2 separate regions of the Homo sapiens genome follow, and region 1 is linked to region 2. The links are contacts of gene promoters, found by promoter capture Hi-C in human tissues and cell types (Jung and others, 2019). All regions are on one chromosome and are shown on one strand. Each heading gives the region's core, a stretch centred on a gene start or on the middle of the fragment in contact. The rest is flanking DNA. Distances are from core to core; before and after follow the strand shown. Region 1 overlaps RAP1GAP (RAP1 GTPase activating protein). Region 2 holds the start of HSPG2 (heparan sulfate proteoglycan 2).

Evidence for each region. The method cuts DNA at HindIII sites, captures the fragments that hold promoters and counts their contacts. A contact is called where the count stands out against the background at its distance.
Region 1: a fragment that was not itself captured here is called in contact with the fragment with the promoter of HSPG2 in region 2 in 1 of the 25 tissues and cell types used here (dorsolateral prefrontal cortex).

The regions. Positions count from the first base shown.
Region 1 is chr1:21,637,310-21,644,353 of GRCh38, forward strand. The region is part of intron 2 of RAP1GAP (RAP1 GTPase activating protein); the gene reads right to left. Among named protein-coding and RNA genes, the nearest start is that of RAP1GAP, 29 kb to the right of the region's middle. RefSeq lists an enhancer at 2,333-3,162. The HindIII fragment of the contact is 7,278 bases long and covers 1,353-7,044 here.
Region 2 is chr1:21,932,022-21,939,338 of GRCh38, forward strand. HSPG2 (heparan sulfate proteoglycan 2) reads right to left here and starts at 5,289. Exons shown (of 97, transcript NM_005529.7): 1 at 5,134-5,289. The coding sequence starts at 5,196. RefSeq lists enhancers at 1-284, 3,739-4,580 and a silencer at 5,328-5,677. The HindIII fragment of the contact is 19,449 bases long and covers 1-7,317 here.

The DNA.
Region 1 (7,044 bases), core at 3,742-6,241, 300 kb before region 2:
CCACATCCGGCTAATTTTTTTTTTTTGTAGAGACAGGGTTTCACCATGTTGCCCAAGCTGGTCTGAACTCCTGGATCCAAGTGATCCACCTGCCTCAGCCTCCCAAAGTGCTGGGATTACAGGAGTGAGCCACTGCATCCAGCCCCACATCTGGAATTCTTTGCCTCTTGATGACTCTAGGATCCCTGTAACTGAGGGCAGAGGCAATGGATGTTAAAATGTGCATATTCTTTGGTCCAGCAACCCCATTTCTAGGCATTTATTCTCCAGAAATATAACACCAATGCATAAAGATATATGAACAAAAAAGTCATGAAGCAGGGTTTGCAACCGCAAACATCTGGACGCCACTTCAATGTCCATTACAAGGAGATTAGTTAAATATATCAAACCATGGAATACTATACAGCAATGACAAAGAAGGTCTTTAGTCTTGATGGAAAAGGGGGTTTGAGGCATATTGTTAAGTGAATAAAGCGGGCTGCACACAACAAAAATCTCATTTGTAAAAATTTAAAATTACATGTCAAAGTTTACATGGCTGGCCGGGAGTGGTGGTTCACGCCTGTAATCCTAGCACTTTGGGAGGCCAAGGCAGGCGGATCTCTTGGAGCCAGGAGTTCAAGACCATCCTGGGCAACATAGCAAAACCCCATCTCTACCAAAAAAAAAAAAAAAAAAAACCACAAAAATTAGCCGGGTATGGTGGTGCATGCCTGTAGTCCCAGCTACTCAGGAGGCTGAGGTGGGAAGACTGATTGAGCCTGAGAGGTTGAGGCTTCAGTGGGCCAACATTGCACCACTGTACTTCAGCCTGAGTAACAGAGCAAGATCCTATTAAAAAAAAAAAAAAGAAAAGAAAAAAAGGCCGGGCATGGTGGCTCACACCTATAATCTCAGCACTTTGGGAGGCCAAGTCAGGTGGATCACTTGAGGTCAGGAGTTTCAGACCAGCCTGACCAACATGGTGAAACCCCATCTCTATTAAAAATACAAAATCAGCCGGACATGGTAGCGCATGCTTGTAATCCCAGCTACTCAAGAGGCTGAGGCAGGAGAATCGCTTGAACCCAGGAGGCAGAGGTTGCAGTGAACCAAGATTGCACCACTGCACTCCAGCCTGGGCGACAGAGCAAGACTCTGTCTCAAAAAAAAAAAAAAAAGAGAGAGAGAAAAGGGGCTTGCTGCGTATGGGACCCTGAGGCCCAAAAGCCCTCAGAATTTTGAGTGGGATGAAGCCCAGTTGGGCTGTGTCTGTCTGTCCGTCCTCTTTCTCTTTAAACAAAAACAAAAACAAAAAGAAAGTTTACATGGCTTATCTCTGAGAAGCAGGACCACTAGGAACTTCTGCTTTCTGTGGCAAATACTTTTCTGCACGGTTTGGATGTTTATAATGAACACTTAGTATTTGTGTAATCAGAAAAAAATTAAAGATTTTAGAGAGCTGAGCACTCACTATGACTCAGCTCCCTGAGCACCTGACTGCTTTACCCTTTTCCATCACCTTGAGAGGGAGGTATGACTCACCCCTTATTCCAAGGGGGAGAAGCTGACACGAAAAGAGACTAAACACCATGACCAATGTCCCTGAGCCAGGCGTCACAGAGCTGGGTTGCACCCCCATTCTGGCTGGCTCCCAAGCCCACACTCTTTCCCCTACATTAGGCATTAGACAACCTGCTCCGAGGGTCAGGGAAGAGCAGAGGCAGCACAGAAGTGGCCCAGGCAGCTGGGCCCAGGGATGTGCCCTGTGACTTCAGCTGTCACGTCCTGCAAGCCAGGCCAGCCGGGTTAGCATGTGTGGGGACAGGGCTGTCTACTTCATTTGTAAATGCAAATGTAGGCTCTGCTCCTAGCGCGGGCTCCATGCCCTGAGCTGCCCCAGGCTGGCAGGTGCCCAGCCCCACCCCTGGCACTACCCCCAGAAGCCTCAGGGTCACCAGGCAGGTGGGCACGTCCCAGCCCAGGCCCTTCCCTGGAGCTCTAAATAACTTTCTGTGTTGATCAACCTGTTTGTGGATGGATTTGGCATTGAAGGTCACTTGTCACCTTCTCAGTGACAGCCTGGAAAGGTGACAGTCACACCTGAGTGTGTCTGAGTCTGGATGGGCCAGAGAACAAGACCTGAAAGTCAAACGGAACTGAGTTCAAATCCTGCCTGTGCCAAGCTCTAGCTGTGTGGCCTAGGGAGAGTCCCTTCACCTCTCTCAGCCTCTGTTTCCTCGGCTATAAAATGGTGTTGAGAATTTCTCCCTGCAGGGCTGCTGAGAGCATTAAATGAGAGAATGCACGTGAAAGTACGTCCTAAGCTAGAAGCCACCTTGCACGTGTAGAGAAGAGTTATGACCTCACTCCTGTGGGGGCAGGCGGGGGGCACAGGCACATCTGTGCGGATGTGGAGTGAGCAAGGATCCACCCTGGCTGGACCCCAGGGCCCTGCCGCACAGACTCAGCCGGTGGGCGGGGCAGCGTCTGACACTTTTCCTGGGAGTCGGCACCGGGTGTTCCGCAGCTCTGCCTGGTGGTGCGAGAGGGTGTGTGTGACTCTGTGGGTGAGAATGGAGATGGGAGGCCCCGGCAGGAGCGTGAATGGGTGTGGGAGGGAAAGCGCTTGTGTCGCATGTTTGGATCTGATCACACCACCCACCTGCCTAGAAGGCCCCAATGGCTTCCCGCCGCAAGCAGGATCCAGACGCCCGCCTCACGTGGCCCACGAGGCCCTGCGTGTCTGCTCCCCATCCCCGGCCCCCCTCCCACCCGCCCACTGTCTCTGGCCTCATCCAGGGCTTCTTTCCTCCTTCTCCAGACTCCTTTCCGCTCCTCAAACCCGAGGTGCTCCTTCCCACCTCCAGGCCACTGCACACGCTGTGCCCCCTGCCTGTTACCCCCTTCCCGTCCGCTTGGATCACATTTCAGGTGCTATGTCTGTATTCAGTCTTCCAGAGCCCCCTCCCCAGACCAGGAGAAGCTGCTCCGAACCTGACCAGCTTTCCCAGAAGCCTGTCTTGGGCCTTCATGGATTTACCTGTTGCGTTTGCACATTTCATGGTGTGACCATTAAGCCACTGTCAGTCTCTCCTGCTAGAAATGGGGTTTCTTCAGGTCATGCCTGGGTCTGTTTGGGTCTGATCTGCTGCATGAATGAATGTGTATGTCTGTGCCTCTATGTTCATGATGAAGCTGTCTCTACAAGGGTCAAGTCTATGAGTGTGAGTAGGGAAATATGTGTGTGTGTACATGTAATGGGTCATCTCAAAGAACCTTTCCTCAGCCTGCAGGCAGCTGGGCTGGGAAAGGCCAAGGCAACCTGGGGCCAGTGCCTAGGCTGGCTGGGGTGAGGGGAGAACAAGCAGCAGTTCCCTTACCCCCGACTAAAATAGGTCCAGGGTCTTTGCGCCAGGTAGATCCAGTCAGGTGGGCTCCAGGCTGGAGGCCTGACTCTGCCCTGCAGTGAGCTCCACCCCTGCCTGCTCCTACAGGTTGGAGCCCAGCCTCCTGCCTGCACAGCCCAGCTCACTTGAGACTCAAGCCAAGCCTGGTCTTCCATGGCTGCCCACACTCCCCACCACCCCACCGGGCCTGTCTTGTGGGCAGCAGTTATTTTTTGTGTGTGTGTGGGATGGAGCCTTGCTCTGTTGGCCAGGCTGGAGTGCGGTGGTGTGATCTCGGCTCATGGTAATCTCCACCTCCTGGGTTCAAGCGATTCTCCTGCCTCAGTCTCCTGAGTAGCTGGGATCACAGGCATGCACCACTACGCCCAGCTAATTTTTTTTTTTTTTTTTGTATTTTTAGTAAAGATAGGGTTTCACCATGTTGGCCAGGCTGGTCTCAAACTCCTGACCTCTGGTGATCCACCCACCTCGGCCTCCCCAGAGTGCTAGGATTACAGGCATGAGCCACCACACCTGACTGGGGAGCAGTTCCTGATCTGAAAGAAGTGGGCTTCCAGCCTCTCTGCCTTCTCAGCCACCTCCACCTGTTGCCAGGAGATGATCTGGAATGTTCCAGCTTTGGGGCGGGGGAAGGAGTCCTATTCCTGCCCCCAATCCTTTACATTTTCTCTACCCTCTGCCTGGACTACTCTTCCCACAGCCAGCTCCTTCCCATTCAGGCCTCAGAGAGGCCCCTCCCTGATACCCTTGGCAAAGCCAGGCCTTGCACCCACCCCATCCGTACTACACATTACCCATCTGAAGCTACCTTAGCTGTCTGTCTCCTGCACTGGAGGATAACATGCGTGAAGCAAGGACCGTGTCTGTCAGGTTCACTGCTGCATCCCCAGTTCTTAGACTAGTACCTGGCATGTGGTAGGAACTCCGTAAGTATTTGTTGAATTAACGAGTGGCTAATGGAAGCCCTGAAAGATCCCAGGAGGTGAACATTGCCCGTTTGCAGGCATGGAAACTGAGGTTCAGAGAGGTTAAGTCTCTAGCCCAATGTCACACAGCAAACAGCTGGACCAGGTCAAACTTAGGGACAAGCTAACTCCACTAGAACCCCAGCACATCAGAGTGTATCACAGCCAACCTTCCCATTTCATAGGTATGAAAATGAGCCTCTGAGAGGGAGGGTGATGTTTCTCTAGGTCACTTGGGTCCGAGGCATGTGTTTCTTCCCTCCTGCAGCATGGGGTCAGAAACAGCTGCATTGTTACACCGGCCGGCCCTTTAAAAGCACCTCCTCACTGCCTCTCACTCACCGTGAGGCAGGGGCCATGAACACCCCCACTGCACAAAGGAATGAGCCAAGGCTCAGCAAGGTGACGGACTCCTCAAGGTCACTGGCCAGGACCTGGCACCAGGCCCATCAGACTCCAAAGCCAGTGTTCTCAGGGCCAGTGCCTAAGGCCAGTGCCCACGGCTGGGGTGTACAGTCACGTGTAGGCAGTCAGGTCACCCCCTGGCAGGCAGCAAGCTTCCAGAGGACAGAGTCTACACACCAAGCGCAATTCCGCACCCACTGCAGGCGCAGCAGGTAACCATGACCGCGATGATGGCAGTAACCGCAATAGCTGGCATCGACGGAGTACGTGCTCTGTGCCAGGCCCTGGTTTCAGGCCTTGGCACCCATTATCTCATTTAATCCCCCCACCAATCTTCCAGGTAGTACTTTTATTGCCCTCATGTTACAGGTGAGGAAACTGAGATCCAGAGAAGTCACCCAGCCAGCTGGTGGCCGAGACAGCATCTGCGGTCCCAGCCCAGACTCTGGCTCCAGGGCTTCCACAGCCCTGCACTAAGAGCACAGTCAGGGCCTCCCTGAGCTGCGGCTGACTCAGTCTCACACAGCAGCTCCTTGGAGCAGGGAGGAGGATGGGCGACTGGCACCCTAGCAGGCCTCTTCCCATGGTGGCTGGGGGGTTCAGAGCCTTCCAGCGTAGCCCACAGAAGTCCCAGCAGGGCCTACAGGGACATGATCTGGTGGCTGTCTCTCTTCCCTTCACCTGTCAGGCCCAACTCAGTCTTGAATCCAGCATGTGCCACCACACACTTTTCTCCTCCACATTGCTGACCTGCCACCTCCTGTCCCTGGAACATTCTCGCACAGTGCACCTCCCTTCCCCACTACACACACACACACACACACACACACACACACACACACACTGCCACTTGGCCCACTTCAACTTTTGAGTCACCTCCTCCAGGAAGCCCTCCTTGATTCCCAGATGTGGGCAGGAGTCCCTTCTCTGAGATCTCAGCAACCCTCACATCTCCCTAGTCAGCACATGTCATTCCCATCAAACCACCTCTTTCCTTATGACCCTCTCTAGACTCTGAACCCAGAAGAAGTGGCCTCATCTATTTTCTCCACCAAGTCCCCAACGCCCAGCACAGGGTTTGGCCCTAGGAGGGTGTCCCCACACTAAATGCTTATTGAATTAGTTTGCTGAATGAATGAATTTTGGGGAAGATCCTGAACTCAGAAGGCCTTTCCAGGATCTGGGCTATCAGAAAATCCCCTCCGAGGCTGGGTGTGGTGGCTCACGCCTGTAATCCTAGCACCTTGGGAGGCCGAGACGGGCGGATCATGAGGTCAGGAGTTCGAGACCAGCCTGACCAACATGGTGAAACCCCATCTCTACTAAAAATACAAAAATTAGCTGGGCATGGTGGCACACGCCTGTAATCCCAGCTACTCAGGAGGCTGAGGCAGGAGAATGCTTGAACCTGGCAGGTGGAGGTTGCAGTGAGCCAAGATCGTGCCACTGCACTCCAGCCTGGGCGAGACAGCAAGACTCCGTCTCAAAAAAAAAAAAAAAAAAAGAAAAAAGAAAAAAAGAAAATCCCCTCCTTAGCCATCTACTCACCCCCTGTGGCCACGACAGTGCCTAAAATTCTATCACTAGAGAATCTCTCTTTGGATGAATGAGTCTTTCCTCTCAAAATGCAAATGCTTAGTTAGAAGGGAGAACATCCCCCTGCGCATACACTCTGCACTCATTTCATTCGAAGCAATACTGTTTCCATTGTTATGGACAATCTGGGGTTCAGAGAGGCAGAGTAGTTGGGGTAAGGCCACACAGCAAGTAAGTGGAAGTTGAACTGGGTATTTGAACTCAGGTCTACCTAACAGAACTCAAATATTCCCATGCATCTCAGACAAATAGACCAGAGTTTGAGCATCACCAGGAGATAGGGGCACACAGGGCCAACCAGACCAGGGACCTCAGGGCGGCAAGAGTCCTCTCTTCATGATGCTGAGGATAGACGTGGGATAGCAGAGTTGTGCACAAGTGAGATGGGGACCCATTTCTCAAGATCACACAGCCAAACAGTGGCAGTCCCAGAGCCACAACGCATGTGGAGGGGATTTTTCTCTTGTCTCCTGAAGCTATAGAGGATCCTTCCTGGAAGCAGGGCGTCTCTCTGGCACTAGGCTCATCCCTGCCTCAGAGCCTTTGCACCTGCTGCTCCCTCTGTCTGGACACCCTGCCAGCTCCCCCATGGCCAGCTCCTCTCATCCTTCAGGTTTTGGTTCAAACACCCCCTCTTCAGAAAGGCTTTCCAGGACTCCTTCATTTTCCAGCCATACAGCGCAGGG
Region 2 (7,317 bases), core at 4,039-6,538:
TGATGAGAACATTAATGAATTAACAAACCTAAAAATGACCACCCTAGAGTTCCTAGGCTTCCCCTCCAGGCACAGGCGTCCCTAGGAGACCCCACGGACACTGAGGCATACCCAACCTAAGAGCTTCTGTCCCCGAGCCAATCCCTGATATTCCTTGCCTGAGGTAGCCCCTGTACTACTTGGGACCAGAGTTCTTAATCAACATCTGTGACAAGTTGTAGCAATATCTACTGACTGCCCACGACAAGCACATGGGGCAGTACGTGGCGTGATTAGGAGAGCTTCGTCTGGATTCAAAACTTGGCTTGCAGCATCTCTGAGTGTGTGGATATGTAAGTCACTGGGCAAGTTACGTAACCTCTCAGTGCCTCAATGTCCTCTGCTTAGAGAATGGGGATCAGGCTAGTAGCTACAGCTTAAAACATTCGACAAAGATATTCACTAAGCACTTACTACCTGCCAGGTGCTAAGCATACAGCAGTGAACAAAAACAAATGAGGTCCTGCTCTCGTAGAACTTAAACTGAGCAGGAGGAAGCAGATAAACACATAAACAAATACAGACAAATACAGGCCAGACAATTGTGAGAACAAAAATAAAGCAGTTTAAGGAGACAGCCATTATGGGAAGAGTGGTAAGGACCAGAAAGAGGGAGAGGGTCATATGGATATTACGGGGACAAATGTCCCAGGCAGAAGGAACAGCAGACGCAGAGACCCTAAGGTGGGAGTGTGTTTCACATGCTCAAGAAACAAAGCCTTGGTCAGGCGAGGTGGCCCATGCCTATAATCCTAGCACTTCAGAAGGCTGAGGTGGGAGGATAGCTTGAGTTAAAGAGTTTGGGACCAGCCTGGGCAATACAACAAGATCCCATCTCTATTTGTTTTAAATTTTTATATTCATTAGAAAAGAAAAGGCTGGGTGCAGTGGCTCACGCCTATAATCCTAGCACTTTGGGAGGCCGAAGGGGGTGGATCATTTGAGCCCAGGAGTTCGAGACCTGCCTGGGGGAACATGGCAAAACCCTGTCTCTATAAAAAATACAAAAATTAGCCAGGTGTAGAGGAGGGTGTCTGTAGTCCCAGCTACTCAGGGGGCTGAGGTGGGAGGATCACCTGAGCGTGGGAGGTTGAGGCAGCGGTGAGCTGTGATTGTGCCACTGCACTCCAGCCTGGGTGACAGTGTGAGACCCTGTCTCAAAAAAAAAAAAAAGAAAAGAAAAAGAAACAAAGACTGGTATAGCTGGAGGAGTTTGAGAGGAGCAGGTGGCAGGAGGCCGGGTGTTGCAGGGCCTCGTAGGCTATATTAAGTCAGGGGCTGGGACCTAATTCTGAGCACCGCAGGGAGGTGGTGAGCAGGAAACACAGGTGAATGGGAGGATTCACTGAGAAACTCAGAGCAGACAGTGGGTACTGGGTAAGTCTGAAGTACCCGTATTACTGTGTCATCATCCAGCCTGGCACCCCAAGAGCTCCTTCCCCTCCACTTTGCTCACCCGTCTTCCGGGCCCTGAACCCAGTCACCTCCTGCCACCTTCTTTCCACCGTCTCCCGGGCAGGGCTTCAGACCCACAGATCCTAACTTGTCTGCGCTCAGCCTGAGAGCAGGCCCGGGCCAAGCCAGGCAGGGGCCACAACTCCCCAGACAGGGGGAAATGGGCCTAAGGGATGGGGGGGTGGTCCATCTCTGCCCCTTCCAGCTTCTACCCTGCAGACAGACCTGCAGCCTGCCCTCCTTCCCTCCGGGAATGTCCAGGGCACACTCAAAACCCCATCCTGTGCCGGCTGCAGGTACGGAACAAGTAGGCTAGTGTCAGGTGACAGAGCAGCTGGCTGCGTGGAGGAGGGCTGAGGGACCGCCAGGAAGGGGAGGCTCCTGCAGTTCAGCTGGCAGCCTCCCCAGTGAGGAAATCCAGCTGAGGCAGGAAACAGGTATCTCAGCGACTTCCCTCCTAGGCCCTGGAAAACACCTTAATCACCACCGAGGCTCCCTCAAGACGCCTGTCCCCTGCAGGGCCGCCCTAAAGGGGTCAGCAGGCCAAGGCCTGCCGAGTCACCCAGGCCCAGCCCCCTCCTCCAGCAAGCCTCCTCACCTCCCAACAGCTGAAATTACACCCACACTTAATCACAGATCAGCTTCCTGTGGTCCTGTCCCCCGTCCCGGGGAAGCCTGGAGCTCCCTAAGGCCCATCTCACCCTGCTGCTGTGCCCAACCCTTCCCCATAAGCCACTGGCTCCGGACCAAACTGAAGGGCAGATGAGAGCAAGGGTAGCAGGCAAAGAGGGTCCAAGGTGTGCTGGGAGCCTGGGCTAGGAATTGATCTCATTTTTGACTTGCAACAAACTCCTCAACCCCATTGTACAGATTTGGAAACTAAGGCTCAGAGAGAGGAACTCGCCCCAGATCACACAGCCAGAAACCGCAGCCCAGAGACTCATACTTGGGTCTGTAAGACTTCAGAGACAGGCCAGGCATGATGGCTTATGCCTGTCATCCCAACACTTTAGGAGACCGAGGCGAGAGGATCGCTTGAGGCCAGGAGTTTGAGACCAGCCTGGGCAACAAAGTGTGATGCCCTCTTTTTTTTTTTTTGAGACAGAGTCTTGCTCTGTCGCCCAGGCTGGAGTGCAGTGGCGCGATCTCGGCTCACTGCAAGCTCCGCCTCCCGGGTTAACGCCATTCTCCTGCCTCAGCCTCCGGAGTAGCTGGGACTACAGGTACGTGCCACCATGCCTGGCTAACTTTTTGCATTTTTAGTAGAGACAGGGTTTCACTATGCTGGCCAGGCTGATCTTGAACTCCTGACCTCATGATCCGCTCGCCTCGGCCTCCCAAAGTCCTGGGATTACTGGCGTGTGCCACCGCGCCTGGCCCCGAAAAACTTTTTATTGTTTGTTTGTTTTGAGGCGGAGTCTCACTCTGTCACCCAGGCTGGAGTGCAATGGTGTGGTCTCAGCTCACTGCAACCTCCGCCTCCTGGGTTCAAGCGATTCTCCTGCCTCAGCCTCCCGAGTAGTTGGGATTACAAGCATGCGCCACCACACCCGTCTAATTTTTGTATTTTCAGTACAGATGGGGTTTCACTATGTTGGCCAGGCTGGTCTCAAACTCCTGACCTCGTGATCCGCCCACCGTGGCCTCCCAAAGTGCTGGGATTACAGGCATGAGCCACCGCGCCTGGCCTGAAAAACTTTTTAAAAAGAATTTTATAAAGAGACTTCAGGGGCCAAGCTCTTTCCAGCCCACCACCAGCAGCCTGGGGTGGGACAGCGACCCTCCATGTGTTGCTGAGAAGGCTCTCTAATCCCACAGGATTGGAGCTGCCTGTTTATTTGTCTAAATTACCGCCCACCAGCCTGTGAGTGCTGGGAAGGCACAGACAGGGCCTGTCCTTGCTGGTCCAACCCACCCCAGCCCCTAGCACCACACGAGGTTCACTGGTTCACTGGCACACAGTAGGTGCATGGCAAATATCTGCCCAAAGAATGAACCTCTGTACTCCCAGTGACTGCCATGGAATGTCGCTCAGTGATGATCTGTTGAATGAACAAGTGAATGAGATGATCTGCCACGGTCCAGGAATGTCTGTGGAAATTCCTCATGCACACAGCAAACAACTCCACCCACCGCCATCCTACCGCACCCGGGCATGGAGGAGCCCCTCATCGGGGGCAGAGCTGGGGGAAGGTCAGGAAAGACTGTTGGGCCTCGGAAAACATCCCACGTGCTAGGTTGGTGCGTTGGGAAAAGTAAAAGTCAGTGCCAGGAGTGCAAGTTCAGGTCAAGACTAGGGAGCTACTGGATGGCCCTGCTGAATATTTTGGGGTGAGAGGCTGAAACAGGAGGACGACAGAGGAGGCTGCCCAGAGTGGGGATGGGGGAGGAGAAGTGCTGGGTGGGTGGGGCAAGAGCAGTGAGGAGCCAGGTCTGGGTGGGGGCTTGACGAGTGACTCAGGAGGGTAGAGGTGCGATGAAGCCAGGAAGGTGAGGCCAGGCAGGCAGTTCCTGGGTAAACACCAGCCTGGTTAGAAAAGTCCCTCTCTTGGCTCAGAGAACAGGGAGGCAGGTATGGGGACTGCCTAGGAGCACCTCGGAGAGAGTGGGGGTGGCTCTGTGGCTCCCCACGGTAGGCTCGGCTCCCCAGATGTGCCCCCACCCACATCTGCCACTAGCTCCCTGCCCACCGACCCCACCCAGTCCTCCTCAAGTTCACTCAGGTCCTCAGGGCCTCTGCTGGCCAAGTGCCTTCTAAGCCTCGGGATTCCTGACCGTAGAATTCCCTTTTCCTCCACCTAAGCTCAGAGTAGGGGACTAGACTGCAAGGGCAGGCCTCTCCCTGCCTCTTGGAGACCTGGGAAGAGGAAAGCTGGGGAACTCGGGTCCCCCAAGGGTGCACTGCATCCCCGCACCACGCACTTTGCAGCTCATTCCACGCAGTCCAGCAACGCCCTGCAGCTATGCATTTTGAGGCCGTGCATTTTGAGTTCCCTTGACCCACGTGGGGCTGGCCTCAGAGAGGTTAACTAGCGTGCCCCAGGTCACACAGTTACTCAGTGAAAGGCAGGGATTGATTCAACTCTTCGGCTGTATGACTCCAAGGCCCGTGGGTGTTCCACACAAGCTTCAGTTCTGTCCCAAAAGTTTTGCTTGTGCCTACCTGGGTCCAAGCTCCCCAAGGTGATAGACGGTGTGGTAAAGTTTCAGCGAGACTCATAGGGTCCCCATCACCACTGAGTGGCCGTTCTGCCAAGCTGGCGCAGAAGGGTTCCCTCGTCCTGCCAAGTTCCCACCCTGCTCAAAGTTTCCCCTCCTGGTCCCCAGGAATGGTAGGCCGGACCATGCCCAGCGAGACTCCAGCACTCGGCAACGTGGCCGAGAGACCCACGGGCTCCCACACGGGCCAGCCCCGCCCCCAGCCCCACGAAGGGTCCTGACTGGTGGCCCCCCTGGATTAGCCCCATGCCGCAGGGTGGCGCCGGCCCGGGGTCCCCGGCGGGCGCCGCCGTCCCGGGCCAGAGTCCCCGCCGCGCAGCCTTGGGCGCCCCAGCCAAGTTGGCGGGAGGCGGCGAGCGGGACCGGGGCGCCCCTAGCCCCTCCGCCCCCGCCCCCCGCCCCTCTGCCCCGCACACTCACCGCCAGCAGCCGCCCGTGCAGCAGCAGCGCCAGCAGCAGCGCGCCCGCCGCCCGCCACCCCATGGCCCGGCCCGCGCCGCTCTCTCGCTCGCTCGCTCCGCGCCGCCCGCTCCGCGCCGCCCGCAGCCGCCCGCTCGCCGGCCAGCTCGGGACAGCGCGGCCCTCTCCCCACCGCCCCCTTTCCTCCCCGCCCGCCCCGCCCCCGCAGCGCCGGCCCCGCCCCCGAACCGCCCCTCCCCGGAGCGCCAGGCCCCGCCCACGGACCGCCCCCGGGCCGCGGGCTCTGCTCGCCCCAGCCGGCCGCGCAGCCTACTAGGCCTTTGTCTGGGCCCCCAGCCCCCTCCGCGCGGGCCGCGGCCCGGCCCGGCTCCCCGCCAAACCCGGCCTGGAGTATGGGATGGGACGGGGCGGGGGACCGGGGGCCCGGGCCCGGGCATGGGATGGGGCCGCCGGGCCAGGCGCTCTCGCCTCCCCGATCCCCGGCTCCCCCGCTTCCCCGCGCGCGCCGCCGACTTCCACGCCCCTGCACGCCCCGCACGGCCGACTCCACTCGCGCAGCTTTTGAAGATCCCGGGATCTCCTTCCCACGCTCACACGCACGCAGCTGCCGCTCCGCGCCACACGTGCACGCCAACTTCCACACCCAAGAACACCTTCACACCATAACTTTACTGCACGAACACACTTGTGCGCTACCCGGGAACACTTTCACACTCTGGACCCAACTCTGAAGTACCAACAATCCTCACCGGCTCACATGCACACTTAACTCGCTTCCAAACTCTCACCTCCACCAGGGACACAGGAGACAGCCCTCACACCACACTCAGCCCCTCACTCACGCATACATCCCAACAAGTCACGGAGCGGGAGGACGCCTTTTCACATAGATTCCTCGCAGGCACGCACATTTCACACACAGGCCCACATCATTGCCTACATGCTTACCAGCTTGTTTTTTTTTTTTTTTTTTTTTTTGAGAAGGAGTCTCGCTCTGTCCCCAGGCTGGAGTGCGGTGGTGGGATCTTGGCTCACTGCAACCTCCGCCTCCGGGTTCAAGCAATTCTCCGGCCTCAGCCTCCTGAATAGCTGGGATTACAGGCGTGCCACCACGCCTGGCTAATTTTTGTATTTTTAATAGAGATGGGGTTTTTACCATGTTGGCCAGGCTGGTCTCGAACTCCTGACCTTGTGATCTGCCCGCCTTGCCCTCCCAAAGTGATGGGATTACAGGCATTGAGCCACCGCACCCAGCCTCAGCCTGTATCTTTTACCTGTTCTCACCCACTAATCACAGTGCCTCATAGTGGGCACTGGGTACTGAACTGAGCTGCCCACCCCACCTGCACCATTTTCCATGTAAATCACTCACACACCAACTTTGAGTCACATAAATCACAGCCCCAGAGCCAGAACCACACCAACTCACACACTCAGGCCCAGACAGACAGACCCTGCCAAAGCCCCATCACAGATGCTCGGGTGGGTGGTAAAATCACAGCCCCATGATCTGTCTCTGACCCAACCGCAGGCAGCAAACAGCACCAAGCCCCCAGACCTATTCACTGCCTACTCTTCAGCTCCCCTCTTCTGCCTGAAATTTCCAGGGCAGCCCGAGGCTGATGGGTGGAGAGGAAAACTATGTGTGTGTAGCTTTGAGGAAAACCTTTTGAGTAATGATAGAGGAGGAGAATAAAACTGAAGTTTCCATTGTTTCCTGTGAGAGTTGCTAGGTTCCAGAAACTCATGGCTGGGTTTGCAGCCAGGAGTGAGGTGAGCTGTGGACAGAAGGAAATGCCCAGCTCACTGGGCGGCACCAGGCCTGGCTCCGGAAGCTATGTTCCCTGTGATAGGGGTCCGCAGGCTCCCAAGCACATTGGGGCCTCTCATCCAGGCATCTGGGGGATTGAAAAAACACTGGCATCCTGACCCCCATCCCAGATAGATCCCCTATCTCCAAAAGATATCTCCAAAATATGCCCTGTGGGGCATATTTCTGTGGGACCAGCTCAGAGTTGTAAAGAACAGAAATTGCATCCACGGTAGTCAGGCCAACTGCCTGGCCCCAACCCAGGCTCCAGGCACAGCACTGAATAAGGTCTATCTCTGATCCGCACAGGGAGATAGGGGTGGACAGAGGAGGGACGCCCAATCTTGGCCCTCAGTAAACTCTTAATCTGATAG